Regions from separate parts of the Homo sapiens genome. Here regions 1, 3 and 4 are each linked to region 2. The links are contacts of gene promoters, found by promoter capture Hi-C in blood cells and fetal thymus (Javierre and others, 2016). All regions are on one chromosome and are shown on one strand. The core of a region is centred on a gene start or on the middle of the fragment in contact, and the rest is flanking DNA. Distances in the headings are between cores, read along the strand shown.

Evidence for each region. The method cuts DNA at HindIII sites, captures the fragments that hold promoters and counts their contacts. A CHiCAGO score of 5 or more calls a contact.
Region 1: a contact is called between a fragment that was not itself captured here and the fragment with the promoter of LTN1 in region 2, in 3 of 17 cell types (total CD8 T cells, naive CD8 T cells and naive CD4 T cells). The highest score is 9.8, in total CD8 T cells.
Region 3: a contact is called between the fragment with the promoter of MIR155HG here and the fragment with the promoter of LTN1 in region 2, in 2 of 17 cell types (total CD4 T cells and non-activated CD4 T cells). The highest score is 7.6, in total CD4 T cells.
Region 4: a fragment that was not itself captured here is called in contact with the fragment with the promoter of LTN1 in region 2 in 2 of 17 cell types (total B cells and non-activated CD4 T cells); the score reaches 5.9 in total B cells.

Annotation. Positions count from the first base shown.
Region 1 is chr21:25,589,553-25,592,746 of GRCh38, reverse strand. The region is part of intron 8 of MRPL39 (mitochondrial ribosomal protein L39); the gene reads left to right. Among named protein-coding and RNA genes, the nearest start is that of LINC00515, 7.9 kb to the right of the region's middle. The HindIII fragment of the contact is 1,999 bases long and covers 251-2,249 here.
Region 2 is chr21:28,990,777-28,994,195 of GRCh38, reverse strand. It overlaps LTN1 (listerin E3 ubiquitin protein ligase 1), which reads left to right and starts at 1,319. Exons shown (of 30, transcript NM_015565.3): 1 at 1,319-1,432. The coding sequence starts at 1,391. LOC105372766 (a long non-coding RNA gene) reads right to left here and starts at 1,093. Exons shown (of 3, transcript XR_007067835.1): 1 at 1,065-1,093; 2 at 515-626; 3 at 15-414. RefSeq lists enhancers at 1,035-1,094, 1,405-1,514. The HindIII fragment of the contact is 7,723 bases long and covers 165-3,419 here.
Region 3 is chr21:25,560,389-25,563,659 of GRCh38, reverse strand. It overlaps MIR155HG (MIR155 host gene), which reads right to left and starts at 1,515. Exons shown (of 3, transcript NR_001458.3): 1 at 1,403-1,515. RefSeq lists silencers at 1,171-1,450, 1,461-1,550 and an enhancer at 1,931-1,980. The HindIII fragment of the contact is 13,141 bases long and covers 1-3,271 here.
Region 4 is chr21:25,750,578-25,753,787 of GRCh38, reverse strand. GABPA (GA binding protein transcription factor subunit alpha) reads right to left here. Exons shown (of 10, transcript NM_002040.4): 5 at 1,554-1,799. Among named protein-coding and RNA genes, the nearest start is that of GABPA, 17 kb to the right of the region's middle. The HindIII fragment of the contact is 399 bases long and covers 1,110-1,508 here.

The DNA.
Region 1 (3,194 bases), core at 1-2,500, 3.4 Mb after region 2:
ATACCAGTTTGAAGAATATAAACTTTTAATTTTTCTTAAGTTATGTGACACTAATATTTTATAAACTCAGGTTTATGATTAAAAACAAAGTTGCCCAGGGTGTAAATATACAATTACAAAAGAAACATTAGTTGAAAAAATTAAATTGACATAGCATTTAAAAATTTCAAGTTAGCATAGGTGAGGGTACATTGACAGAGGGGGTATTAGAGTGCGTATTGGTAAGACTTCCTGGAATGCCTTTTAAGCTTAAATTTGGCATGCTCTTCCCTCTAATTTTAATGATCCATCATGACCCGAAGCCTGACATTTTCCACATTGCTCCCACCCCTTGCTAATCTTTTTATTTAAATTTTTGATTTTGAGATAATTGGGTTATAAGACATAGAGAGATCCCATGTACCTTTACTTGGTTTCCTCAATGGTAGCATCTTGCAGTACTAAAATACAGTATCACCACCAGGGTATGGACAGCGATACAATGAAGATACAGGACAATTCCTTCACTACGGGGATCCCTCATGTTGGCCTTTTATAGACACACGCATTTACAGCCACTTCCCTCTGTTGCCCCCATTACCCTGCCTGCTTACCCCTGCCAACTACTTATCTGTTTTCCTTTTCTATAATTTTGTCACTTCAAGAATATTGTATGAATGGGATCAAACGGTATGTAATTTTTTGGGATTGGCACTTTTCACTCAGTATAATTCTCTGGAGATTTCATCCGAGTACATTGAGTATATCAGTAGTTCATTCATTCTTATTGCTAAGTAGTATTACTTGGTCTGGATGTATCATGGTTTGTTTAACCATTCATCCATCAAAGGACATCTGAGTTATTTTCAGTCTTTGGCTATTACAAATAAAGCTGCTGTGACATTGTGTGCAGGTTTTTGTGAATATTTCTCTGGGATAAATACCCAGGAGTGCAATTGCTGGGTCATATGATAAGTGTATGTTTAGTTTTTTAAGAAACAACCAAAGTGTTCCAGAGTGACGGTACCATTTTACATTCCCACTGGCAATGTGTGAGTGATCAGTTTTTCCACATCCTCACTAGCATTTGATGCTGTCACTACTTTTTTTTTTGTTTTAGTCATTCTGATATGTTTGTAGTGATTTCTCATTGTAGTTTTAATTTGAATTTCTCTGTTGACCAATGGTATTGATCATTTTTTCATGTACTTATTTGCCATCTGTATATCTTCATTGGTGCAATGTCTGTTTATGTCTTTTGCTAGTGTTCTAATTAGATTGTTTTACTTTTTAACAGTTGAGTTTTGAGAGTTCTTTATATGTTGTAGATACTAGTTTTTTGTTAGATATGTAGTTTTCAGATTTCTCTCTTTTTCTGTCTGTACCTTGTGTTTGTATATGTGGCTTGTTTTCTCATTCTCTGAGCAGCCTTTTGCAGAGAAGTTTTTAATTTTGATGAAACTAGTTTATTAAAATTTGATAACATTTTTGTTTTTATAGATTATGTTTTTGGGGTTAATTCTAAGAACTCTTTGACCAGTCCTACATCCCAAAGATTTTCTCCTTTTTTTTTTCCCTCCTAAAAGTTTTAGAGTTTTACATTTGTTTAAATCTGTGGTCCATTTTGAGTTAATTTTTCTATGAGTGTGAGATTTAGGTTTAGGTTTTTTTTTTTTTTTTTTTTTTTTGTGGGCTATAGATGTCAGATTGCTCCAACACCATTCGTTGAAAAGGCCACTCTTCCTCCACTGAGTTACTTTTGCATCTTTGTTAAAAATTAGCTGAGCATATTTATGTAGGCCTATTTTTGGGTCCTCTATTCTGTTCCATTGATCACATATGTTTAGCTCTCTACCAGTACCACCCAGTCTTGATTACTGTAGCTCTAAATAGGCTGTGAAATCAGGTAGAGTAATTCCTCCCTTGTTACTGTTTTTTAATCAAAATTGTTTTAACTCTTCTAGTCTCTTTGAGTTTCCATTTAATGTTAGGATAATATTTTCAATGTCAACAGAGTCTTCCTGAGATTCTGATAAGTCCATTAGACCTGTATAGCAGTTTGGGGAGAATTGACATCTTTAATATGTTGAGGTTTCCAGTCTATGAACTTACTGTATCTTCTTATTTATTTATATCTTCTTTCATCCCTCTCATTTTGTAAAATTTAGCACACCTCTCCTATACATTTGACTTTGACTTTTCTCCACATACCTGCTTCCTTTCCTAGCCTTCCCAATTTCAGAAAATGGGATCATCCTTTAACTCAAGCTTGTCCAACTCACAGCCCATGGGCTGCATGCAGTCCAGGACGGCTTTGAATGAGACACAAATTTGTAAACTTTCTTAAAACATTATGAGGTTTTCTTGCGATTTTTTTTTTTTTTTAGCTCATTAGCTGTCATTAGCGTTAGTATATTTTATGTGTGGTCCAGGACAATTCTTCTTCCAGTGTGGCCCAGGGAAGCCAAAAGATTGGATACCCCTGGTTTCCTTAGTTGTTTAAGGTAATCCTTGATTCTCTTTTCCCCTCATAGCCATGCCCCAGCCCATCCATCCGCAAGTCCTTTCAACTTTTAACTCTGAAACATATTCTGAATCTATGCACCTTATAACATCTCATCTACTACTACTTCCCTTATCCAAGTTCCTCTTTGTTTTCACTCACCTTCCTTGCTTTCACTCTTGCCATCTACAGTGCATTTTCCACTTAGTAGCCAAAGTGATCTTTTTAATACACAATCTGTTATGTACTTCCTCTGCCCCAAACTTTCCAATGGCTTCCCTTGAACAAATCCCAACTCTTTACCCTGTCTCACAAAGCCCTGCATTATCTGGTCCCTGCCTGCTTCTCTGACTTTATCTAACACCACTCCTTTCCTCACTCACTATATTCCAGCCACAGCTTAAGGTCTCTGCACCAGCAGTTCATTCCGCCTGAGTCAGGCATGGTTTTCCCTTTAAACATACCAGTCAGCTCTTTCCCTGGAAGGGTTTGTATGTTGATATTTATTAATTTTACCTTTTATTATAGATTTTATGAGCTCATTCAGTGTGGAGTAGTCACTGGCCTGCCCATATGTCTTGTTACCACTTTCAGTTGACCTAATAAAATTGATGTGGTCATGATACACTTTGCACAGTTTTCTTTAATGCATTCTGATAATCCTCTGCTACAGGAGGTTGTTATGGACTAAGGAAATTGAGTTTAAATTTTA
Region 2 (3,419 bases), core at 70-2,569:
AAACAGAAATCACATTAGTTATTGAGAAATATTTTAATATGGGAAATTGGTCAAAAGGAATTATAAAAGGTAACAGGTAATCACTGCAGGTAGCAGCTACCATTCCTAGAGCTAGGAAAGGATGGAACAAAAGAAGTGGTTGGAGTCATCAGAACCTAAAAGCTTGAAGGAGGGCCCTGAACACCTTAGTTCAGGCCTATGAAGAATGAAGAGAGGGTGATGGCTGGCTGTTACTGGATCTCTGGAGCACAAAGAAGGGATCCCACGGTGTTGAGGCTCAAACTTCTGAGGAGGTGGCTCAAACATTGGCTATCTCAGGAGCTCAGGGGAGGGGCCGCATGAAAGTAGAATTCAGATCTCTGAGGAGAGCACTGACTGCTGCTGTGATCTCTGAGGGGTGCAATAAGGCTGATTCTGTGATTGTTGGAAAAAGGATAGAGATTAAAACCACCTTTTGGCTAAAGCAATTGCTCCTGCCACGGTAAAATGCAGCTGCTGCTGGCATGATGCTTACAGAATGGAGCAAGTCCCTTCTTCCTCTTGCCTTTGTTTCCCTCTTGTTCGTCCTGTTGGTGGAATCTAGCAGAAGCCCCCCCAGTAACATGGAGTTGAGTATAAAAGGGTGACTGCGTGGACAAGAAACAATAACCAGCACACATTTACTTGTTTCTCTGGTGTGATTCTGAGTCGCACAATCAATGGGTTACAGGATTTGTACATTTCAAATTTTAATAGGGACTCCCACATTATCCTCTTTCCTAAACTGCACGTTAACAGTTTCAATATGAATAAAAGGGGACGGGGAGGGGAGATTTAGAGAGAATAGTGCCTACAGCAGTAATCAAATTTTAACAAGACTTGGGAATACTGTCAAAATGCAGGATCTGATTCAGGAGTTCTGAGGGGCCCGAGTTGGCCTTTTCTAAAAAACGCCCAGGTGATACTGATGATTGCATCATGTTGGAAGTCTAAAACACTCCCATCTTCCCACAGCCTCTACCATAACATTCTAATGCTACCCTTATGTGAAACTGCCCCTCTGATGATTCACGCCAGTTTCCTACCCTCTAAGCAAGGAACAAACCTAGCTTCTGAAAGCGGGGAGGACAGGATTTGGCGCCACGGGTCCAATGCTTGGCTTCCTATTGGCCAGGAATGACATCACTCAGACAGGCGTGGCTTTAGCTGTGACGTCTCCGGTGGCGGATGGTCAGGGACACAGCGGGAGGCGGGAGCGGAAGTGGGGCAGCAAATGGACAGGGTGGGTGGCGGAAAAGGGCCCGGGGGAAGTTATTACAGGGTGTCCTCTTCCGCCGCCAGAAGCCGGAAGTTGTGTCCCGGACGTGTCAACCGGGGTCTGAGTGCTCAGAGTACAGCTGCAACCGCGACCATGGGCGGGAAGAACAAGCAGCGAACTAAAGGGAACCTGAGGGTGAGCGGGGGCTGGCTCGGCCGACCCGGGAGCCTCGCTTCGAGGCGGCTGGCTCCGCCCAGCGCGTTGCTGGAGGGTGTGTGGAGCGCGGCTGTAGGGAGGCGTGTGTTTCCCTGTCGAGTGTGACCTCTCTGTTGTGTGTGCGTCCCTGAGAGCGGTTTGTGTTATCTCTGAGCAGATTGGGGAATCGTGAGAGAAAAGATGTACCATGCCAGAGCTGTCCTCATCCGAGCACACACCCATAATATTCATGAAGAAATGATAATGTGTCAGGTTCACTGGAAGGTGATCTGGCCGAGGTAGCGGGTTGGTTGGGGGAGGGCGGCGCTGGGAAGAAGGAGAGTTGGGAGAATGTTAAAGTGAATCCACTGTGGAGGTTACCGCAGATTGTGCCTCTCCTTTGCTACCTACAGTGGCTTCTCCTAAGCTAAAGCTCTTAGGATGGTATATTTGGTTTCTGGACTGCCTGTTACCCCTTTCCATCTGCAGTCCCATCTTCAGCTCCCTCCTCTTGGCTTACTTCATCCAGCCACACTGATCTCTTCACTGTGCCTTGACTACCTGGCCGGCTCCCAACGCTCTTCAGTTAGGTGGCTCCAAACTTTGCTCTCGACACCTCAGTGAGGTCTCCCATGATCACCCTCTTGGTAGCCCTTCCCCACTCCCATGTTCTTCCTACTTTATTTTACTCCATTGTATTTATGACATTTATTGTCTTGGTTCACTAGGACGTAAGTATTTTGAAAGCAAATGTTTTTATCCTCGGAACCTAGAACAGACTGGCACCTAATAGACGCTCACTAAGTACTTGCTTAAGGACGACCTTAAAGTGGATTCGTGTAAAACTACACGATGAGGGGTTTTGTAATGGTATTTTTTTATGGTGTTAGATTTATTATAGCACAGTCCAATTTTATGAGAATGCTTTTTTTTCCTGTTTCTGATGTAGTTAATTCTAGTGATTTCAATGTCACATTTTCTTAGATCTGTCACTTAATCTGTTTTGGAAGATAATAACAGTATTAACAATTATAGCAACCTGTTGTGTTACTGTGCTAAGCACTTTACTTGCATCTTTTAATGTTTTTTATTTAACAGATTTTCTCAAATGTTTTATATTTGAAAAGTTCTTATGAGGAAAAGTTGCAAGAATATTAGAACGACATCCCATATACTCTTTACCTACATTTACCAATTGCTAATACTTGGTTGCATTTGCTTTCTCTCTCTTAATTTATGTATTTTTCTGAACTTATAAGAGTTAGTTGCAGAAGTCGGGACTCTTAACTCCTAAATACATCAGCATGTATCTTCTAAAAACAATGCCATTTTCTAGCCTGCAGCAATTATAATAATGGTTATAGTATGCAGAAACTTTGACTTTTGTATAATACTGTAATCCAGGATACAGCCTTGTATTTAGACTTCTGTAGTTATCCCAATAATGTTCTCTTTTTTCTTTTTTTTTTTTTTGTAAGACAGGGTCGCTCTGTCTCCAAACCTGGAGTGTGGTGGTATGATCATGGCCCACTGCAGTGTCAACCTCTTGGGCTCAAGCGGTCAGTCCTCCCACCTCAGCCTCCTTAGTAGCTAGGACTCCTGGCTAATCTTTTTTTTTTTTTTTTCGGGGACAGAGTCTGGCTCTGTTACCCAGGCTGGAGTGCAGAGGCGTGAACTTGGCTCACTGCAATCTCCGCCTCTCGGGTTCAAGTGATCCTCCCAGCTTAGCCTTTCCAGTAGCTAGGACTACAGGTACAGGCCATCACGGCTAGCTTATTTTTGTAGGGACAGAGTTTTGCCATGTTGCCCAGGCTGGGACTTTTTTAAAAAGATAAACCGTTTTAACATCTGAGATTCAGTCAAGGATCACTCATTCCATTTAGTTACCATTTGGGTTTCTTTGATCTAGACAGTTTCTCAGTACTGTTTAAGCGGGGAGAGGAGTGTCTTTTTTAACAAAATTTGGAAGAGCCTGGGCCATTTGTTT
Region 3 (3,271 bases), core at 266-2,765, 3.4 Mb after region 2:
GGGAGGCAGCAAGGAGTCATGGAAATGAGCCCAAACTGAGAGTCAAAACCCTGTGGTCTGCCGACACCCCCATCCCACATCCGTACCTAAAAGCAGGCTGTGCACTAGGGACCTAGTGACCTTACTAGAAAAAACTCAAATTCTCTGAGCCACAAGTCCTCATGGGCAAAATGTAGATACCACCACCTAACCCTGCCAATTTCCTATCATTGTGACTATCAAATTAAACCACAGGCAGGAAGTTGCCTTGAAAACTTTTTATAGTGTATATTACTGTTCACATAGATAAGCAATTAACTTTACATATACCCGTTTTTAAAAGATCAGTCCTGTGATTAAAAGTCTGGCTGCCCTAATTCACTTCGATTATACATTAGGTTAAAGCCATATAAAAGAGGCACTACGTCTTCGGAGAGATGAATGGATATTACAAGCAGTAATTTTGGCTTTGGAATATACACATAATGTCCACTTGACCTCATCTATTTGACACAAAATGTAAACTAAATTATGAGCATCATTAGATACCTTGGCCTTTTCAAATCACACAGGGTCCTAGATCTGCTGTGTGATGCTGGAAAAGTAACTTCACTTCTGTGGGCCTCAGCTCCTTAATTTTTAACATACTTTGGATTCTTATATCTTTGTCAGCTGTCAACTTCAGTGTTTTCAGGTTAAATTCTATCCATAGTCATCCCAATATACCTGCTTTAGATGATACAAACTTCAAAAGATCCGGCTCTCCCTCGTAAAACGTGGAGGACAGACATCAAGGGGGTTTTGTGAGTAAAGAAAGGCAACCGCTCGGCAAAAACGCACCCTGGCACAACAGGAGCGAATAAATACAGACGCTGATTGAGCGTTTGCTCCATCTTCACTTCTGTTAAATGAAGACATTGATATCTAAAATGCTATGAGTCTAACTTTGTAAAATTAAAATAGATTTGTAGTTATTTTTCAAAATGAAATCGAAAAGATACAAGTTTTGAAGGCAGTCTCTTTTTCCACCCTGCCCCTCTAGTGTGTTTTACACACTTCTCTGGCCACTCCAACAGGGAAGCTGGTCCAGGGCCATTATACAGGTACGTCCCCAACCATCCAAGGAAACTTTGCAAAGAAGCTCAAGTATTAGGTTTCGAACACCCCTCCTTCCCCCTGCCTCTGCCCGCGGGAATCCATCCAGCGCAATCTCTGGTCCCGGGCGAGGCGACACCACTGAGTCCCCAGGGGGCACCCGCAGGCGCGCGCGGGACCAGGCCGGGCTCCACGGCCACGTGCGCGCTGCCCCCGCCTTGCCTCGCCAGTTAACCCGGCGGTGACCCTCGCACCGAAGTCCCCCGGCGTCCCTGCCACGTTCAAGAGAGGAAAGGCGGGCGGGAGCGCGAGACTGAAGTCGGCGTACCTGCAGTGCCAGGAGCGTCTCCTTGGTTCCCCGCGCTTGCTCTGCGGGCGGCTCGGGGCTCCGCTATCCGCTCCCTTCCCGAGGCTGCAGGCGGCGCTGGGCCCGGGCTCGGCCGCGCACAGGAAGCCCGCGCCTGCGAACGTGCGACCCTTTTATAACTCACTTGTGACTCATAACCGACCAGGCGCCTTTTCTGCAACCCCCCCCCCCTTCTCCCCCCTCCTGCCTGTTCTTGGAACCTACAGCTTGAAAAACTTTTTTCTTTTTAAAGGAAAAGTCGAAAAAGCCCAGCGCCCGGGTAGTTGGTGTTTTCCCCTTTCCCTTTCTCGTGGGTCATTGCGTGTGTGTATTTTTTTTCTCTCAACACACGCCGTGTACTTTCCTGCACCGCGCCGCAAGGCTTGGGCTCCAACCTTTGTTCTTAAAGAAAAGGAAACGCCTTCAAATGACGGCCCAGACGTCGCCCGAACTTTCAGTCGGCTGGAGGGGGAAGTGGCGACTTCTTGCAACTGGGTGGCAGGAGTGTCTCTACTCTCTCCTTGCAGGGAGCCCGAGAGGAGCAAGTGGGAGGTTTTTCCTCCTGGACCGAATCAGCTGGAGACCAGCAGGTCCCTAAGAGAGGAAGAAATGGTCTTCAGGCGATCCTGGATTTCATCCCTACCTCATCACCCTTCAAGAGCCCGCGTTTGGTTTGGAATACGTAACTGGGCTTTGAGAACGTTTGTACTGTGTCTGGTACCCGCATTTATACTCGGGATGTCAAGATATAGGACTTAAAACTTCAAAAATTTTGACCTCAACAACATTCTCCCCCTGCCCTCCACTCCCATCTCCAGGACATATTCCTGGAGCATATGGGACTTCGGTCGTTTTAATTTTTGGTTTTGTCGCTTCTCTCTTTTCTCCCGGACCCTGCCACAAGGGGAACATTTTCCTGGAGCAGCCATTTGATTTTGGGGGATGGAAAGGAACAAATAGATCTAAAGCCTGGCAAGTTTATCCTACAAGCCTAGTCGAGTAACTCATTCATGGGTCTCAGTTCAATAAACGTTTAGACTTGAAGAAGAATAAGGAAATATGGGGAAGAGAAGGAGGACAGGAATAGATCTAGCCTCATCAACATGTGACTGGGGCCTTTTTGTAAGAAAGACGGGGCCACTGCTGGATTGCATTGCAAGTATCCAGTACTTGGACCTCCCTGTCAAGGGCACAAGACATTTTAGAATAGTTTGTATTAAACTGATGCCAGTTACATGTCAGAATACATGTCAGAGCTGGAAATCCCATAGTACTTAATTTACAGATGGCTCAGGTTGGTTAAGGAACTTGGGAGCATTTTAAAACCCTCTATTCTTAAGATACATGCTTTTTCTCTTATAATTCAAACAAGAATAATCATGATGATAACAACTAACACTTATAAAGCATTTACCATGTGCCAGATCCTGTCCTAACACTCCTTATATGCATTAACTCTTTCAGTCCTCACTATGATCATATGAGGGAGGAGCATTATAATCTCTATTTCCAGATGAGGAAACTGAGCACAGAGAGATTAAACATGTTACCTTAGATCCTAGTAAGTAGTCAAGCTGAGATTCAAACTCAGTTCCAACCCTGGAGGGCTGGCTCCGTAGTCCAGTCTCCCTGCTTTCCAGATCCATGTGACGTTGAGGAGCTGGGGAAGTTGTGCAGTGGGGCATGTGGCAAGGATGCATGGTCCCCACCCAGGTGGGGCACGTCCCTCTGCTGGTTACAGATGCCTACAATGCCTTTCTGAATTTCCCATTTCTCATTCTAGGTTGAACTATAAGAAATTGCCCATAGGCAATTCTAGGGTGACCTTTCATCCCCAGAATGACAAGTTTG
Region 4 (3,210 bases), core at 60-2,559, 3.2 Mb after region 2:
AAATACACTCAGGTCCCCGCCAACTCTTGGAAGATCAGTATTATTTATTTGTTACCCCAGCATTCTTCCTCATCTGCCCCCATTTCTAAGATATCTATTTCTTATAATTCTGTTTTGTCTCGCCAACTCTAGTTACTTCTGTCTAAATTTAAGAATAATCCTCTGATCATCAAATTTAATAGATATCAGTCAGCATTCTTTGACTTTCTCAGCAGCATCTGAGAGTCTTGACCATCCAAACTCTCCCCTCAATTTCAGTGACACTATACATATAAGTTATTACTTTCTTTCTGTCTCTTCAGTTATTTCTTGTCTCCCTTTTCTCCAACCCTAAATGTTTACAGGGTCAAGTGTATATGCCTTTAGTTGTGTGTTCTTTTCCATTTCTCGCTTTCCATCAGGGACTACGTAGACTTTTATAGCTTCAAATATAAATTCAGTGGGAATGAGTCTCATATAACATCTTTGTCTCCAGCCCAAATCTTATATAACTGAAACCATTTTCTGGCTAACCTCCAGCTGAATATAAACTTCCACATCAAAATCAAGTGCTATCCACCTTCTCTTGAAAAAAACATTTCCTATACCAGACTTCTCTACTTCCCCAACTGGGCTTTTGAAAGCATGCTCTTCATAGTGCACCATCTTAATTAAGCCCAGCATTTAACATGGTGCCTGGTGTACGGTAGTGTTCACTAAATATGTAATGATGATGGAACCAATTTTTATCAAGATTATTACTGTTTTAGTCACCAAGATGAAGCTTGAGAAGTTAGATCAATACTTGTATCTTCCCTCTCTACCCTCATAAAATCTGTCAATCTGCTCAGTCCTATCACTGTTTTCATCCACTTTTTCCTTGCTACTCCCAAAGAAATCATCTGGAGTCTGGGCTAATGTAGACATTATCATCCAGTCACAACTATAATAATATGCTCCTGTTTTCCCTTCACTTAGTCTCTACCTGTTCCAACTTATGCCATATATTGCCACCATATTCATTTTTCAATTATCATTTTCATCAATCAAAAACAGTTCTGTAATGCTACAGAGTAACTCCTTAACCACTCCATTTTCTCACTACTCATGCATACCCCCAGGTCTAAGCTTTGCACATAACATTTCCTGTCTTAAATGTCTTTCTCTGCCCAATGGTATCTTATTTATAATAAACTCTTTTCAGCTTTCCCTCAGGGCAACTATGATCTCTTTGAGATTCCAATAGCATACTTCTACAAGAGTTACTGGCAGTTTAAAAACATGTTACCTTTTATGGCAATCATCTCTTTTCATCTATCTTCTCTCTCTTCAACTACACTCTCAACACCCTAAGAGCAGAAATTTTTTAGACTTCTTTGTATTTCCTGCACGCAGGACAGAATTTGTCCACCACATGAGCTTAAATGTGCGTTACAATTAAAAGAGAGATACAGAAAATCAACATTCATCCTAATAACTCTACATGTAAAATAGATTATAACTTACCCTAGTGTCTTCTATGTCAAGCTTAATTCCTATTATTCTACCCAATATAGAATTATGCATTTTATTACCATAGGGTATCCCAAGGCGTTCTTGTTCTTTCCTATAGCCTTCCAGTGCAGCAGCCCATCTTGTCACTTGTTCTGAAGTTTCATCTGAAATGGTTGTGATGTGTTTTGTGCCATCAAGAGTTATCACTTGAGCTTCTTCAACAAGATGTGCTTCTGATTCAGCATGGTGGGCATCTGGATCAATAACAACCTCAACAGTGTCCGCAGGTTTAACAATTTCAAGGATGTTTAACTTTGGTTCAATTCCTGAACAGTGGATAAAAAAAAATTGTAAATCTAAATGAAAACGCAGAAGTCACCAAAAAATAATTTAGTTTATATGTTCCCAAATGGTAGAGAAAAACTACATCGAATAAAGCAAATGTAGTAAAAGTTAACATTTGGGGAATCTGGGTGAAGGATATTCAAGAATTCTTTTACTAGTCTTGCAACTTTTCTACAAGTTTAAAATAATTTTATAAAAAATAAGACACACACACAAACCCTACCTATAAACATCATTAGAAAAAAAGAAGTACCAGTTCTTACCACAATAAAATAAATAGATAAATAAAAATAAAAATTACCAATACGAAACAATAAAAATTAGACTAGGCAGAGTATAAATGAGCAGCTACCTATCCTTGGAATTTTAAAAAATCCTTCTAAGCAAATTAAAATTATTATTTACTGACTCAGTTTTTCTTTTTAAAGGACAAAGTAGATGTGTTAAAAATTATGCCAAATTTACTAAATTAAATTAACCATTAAATTCTAAATTTCATTTTAAATGAGATGAAGAAAAACCCAAATCCTGAATATTTTAAGCTCCTAGTATAAAGGTGTTAAGAACTGTAATTCCTATGGAAAAAATAAAAAATAAAAATAAATAATTTATTAATACAAAGGCTCCTCAACTATCCAGAATTAAATCAAAATTCTGATTTTGATTTAATTCTGGATAGTTTAAAACACATTTAAACTATTAAATTATAATTTGATTATACCTAATTAAATTATAATTAAGCCAAGAAATTATGCCATAAAAACAGTTATTTCATTATGTGTGCAGTACTCTCTATAAGATATACTTTTATTTATCTATTCAAAATGGAATTAGCCCTTTACGAAATAACCTCAGACTAAAATGACAGCTCTAAGACACTGTCATATTACATAACTGCTTCTGTTTCTTACTGAATCTATTACAATCTATATCAAAATTCAATCAAAGTACAGCTTAAAGAAAAAGCACAACTCAACTTCGATCTTCTGTGAAAACCAGTATTGCAAGAAACTACTACTATCATTCTCAGGTAGTTTAAAGAGAATCATTTTTCAAATATACATGATAAAAACAATCAGAATCAAAAATATTTTTTGTTAAAATCTATTTCCTAATCCTTCATCTAGATTTCATACTTTAATGGCTTTAAGCGAACTCTTCTTAAACATACTTGCATCAAGAGGTCACTAGGCTTTTAAAGATAAAAACTACTAATTTATTTCCTATTCCCAATAATCAGTCCTGAGGGAATTAAGGATCAGAAGTACGTAACTACCATTGTCAGAGTCTGAAGAAAAATGTGGTTTGTGAAACATAATTGTGAACAATATATGTTCAGAGATGAAATTATTCTAAATTTTAAAAAGCTAAAATTCAACCTACCAAAAACAG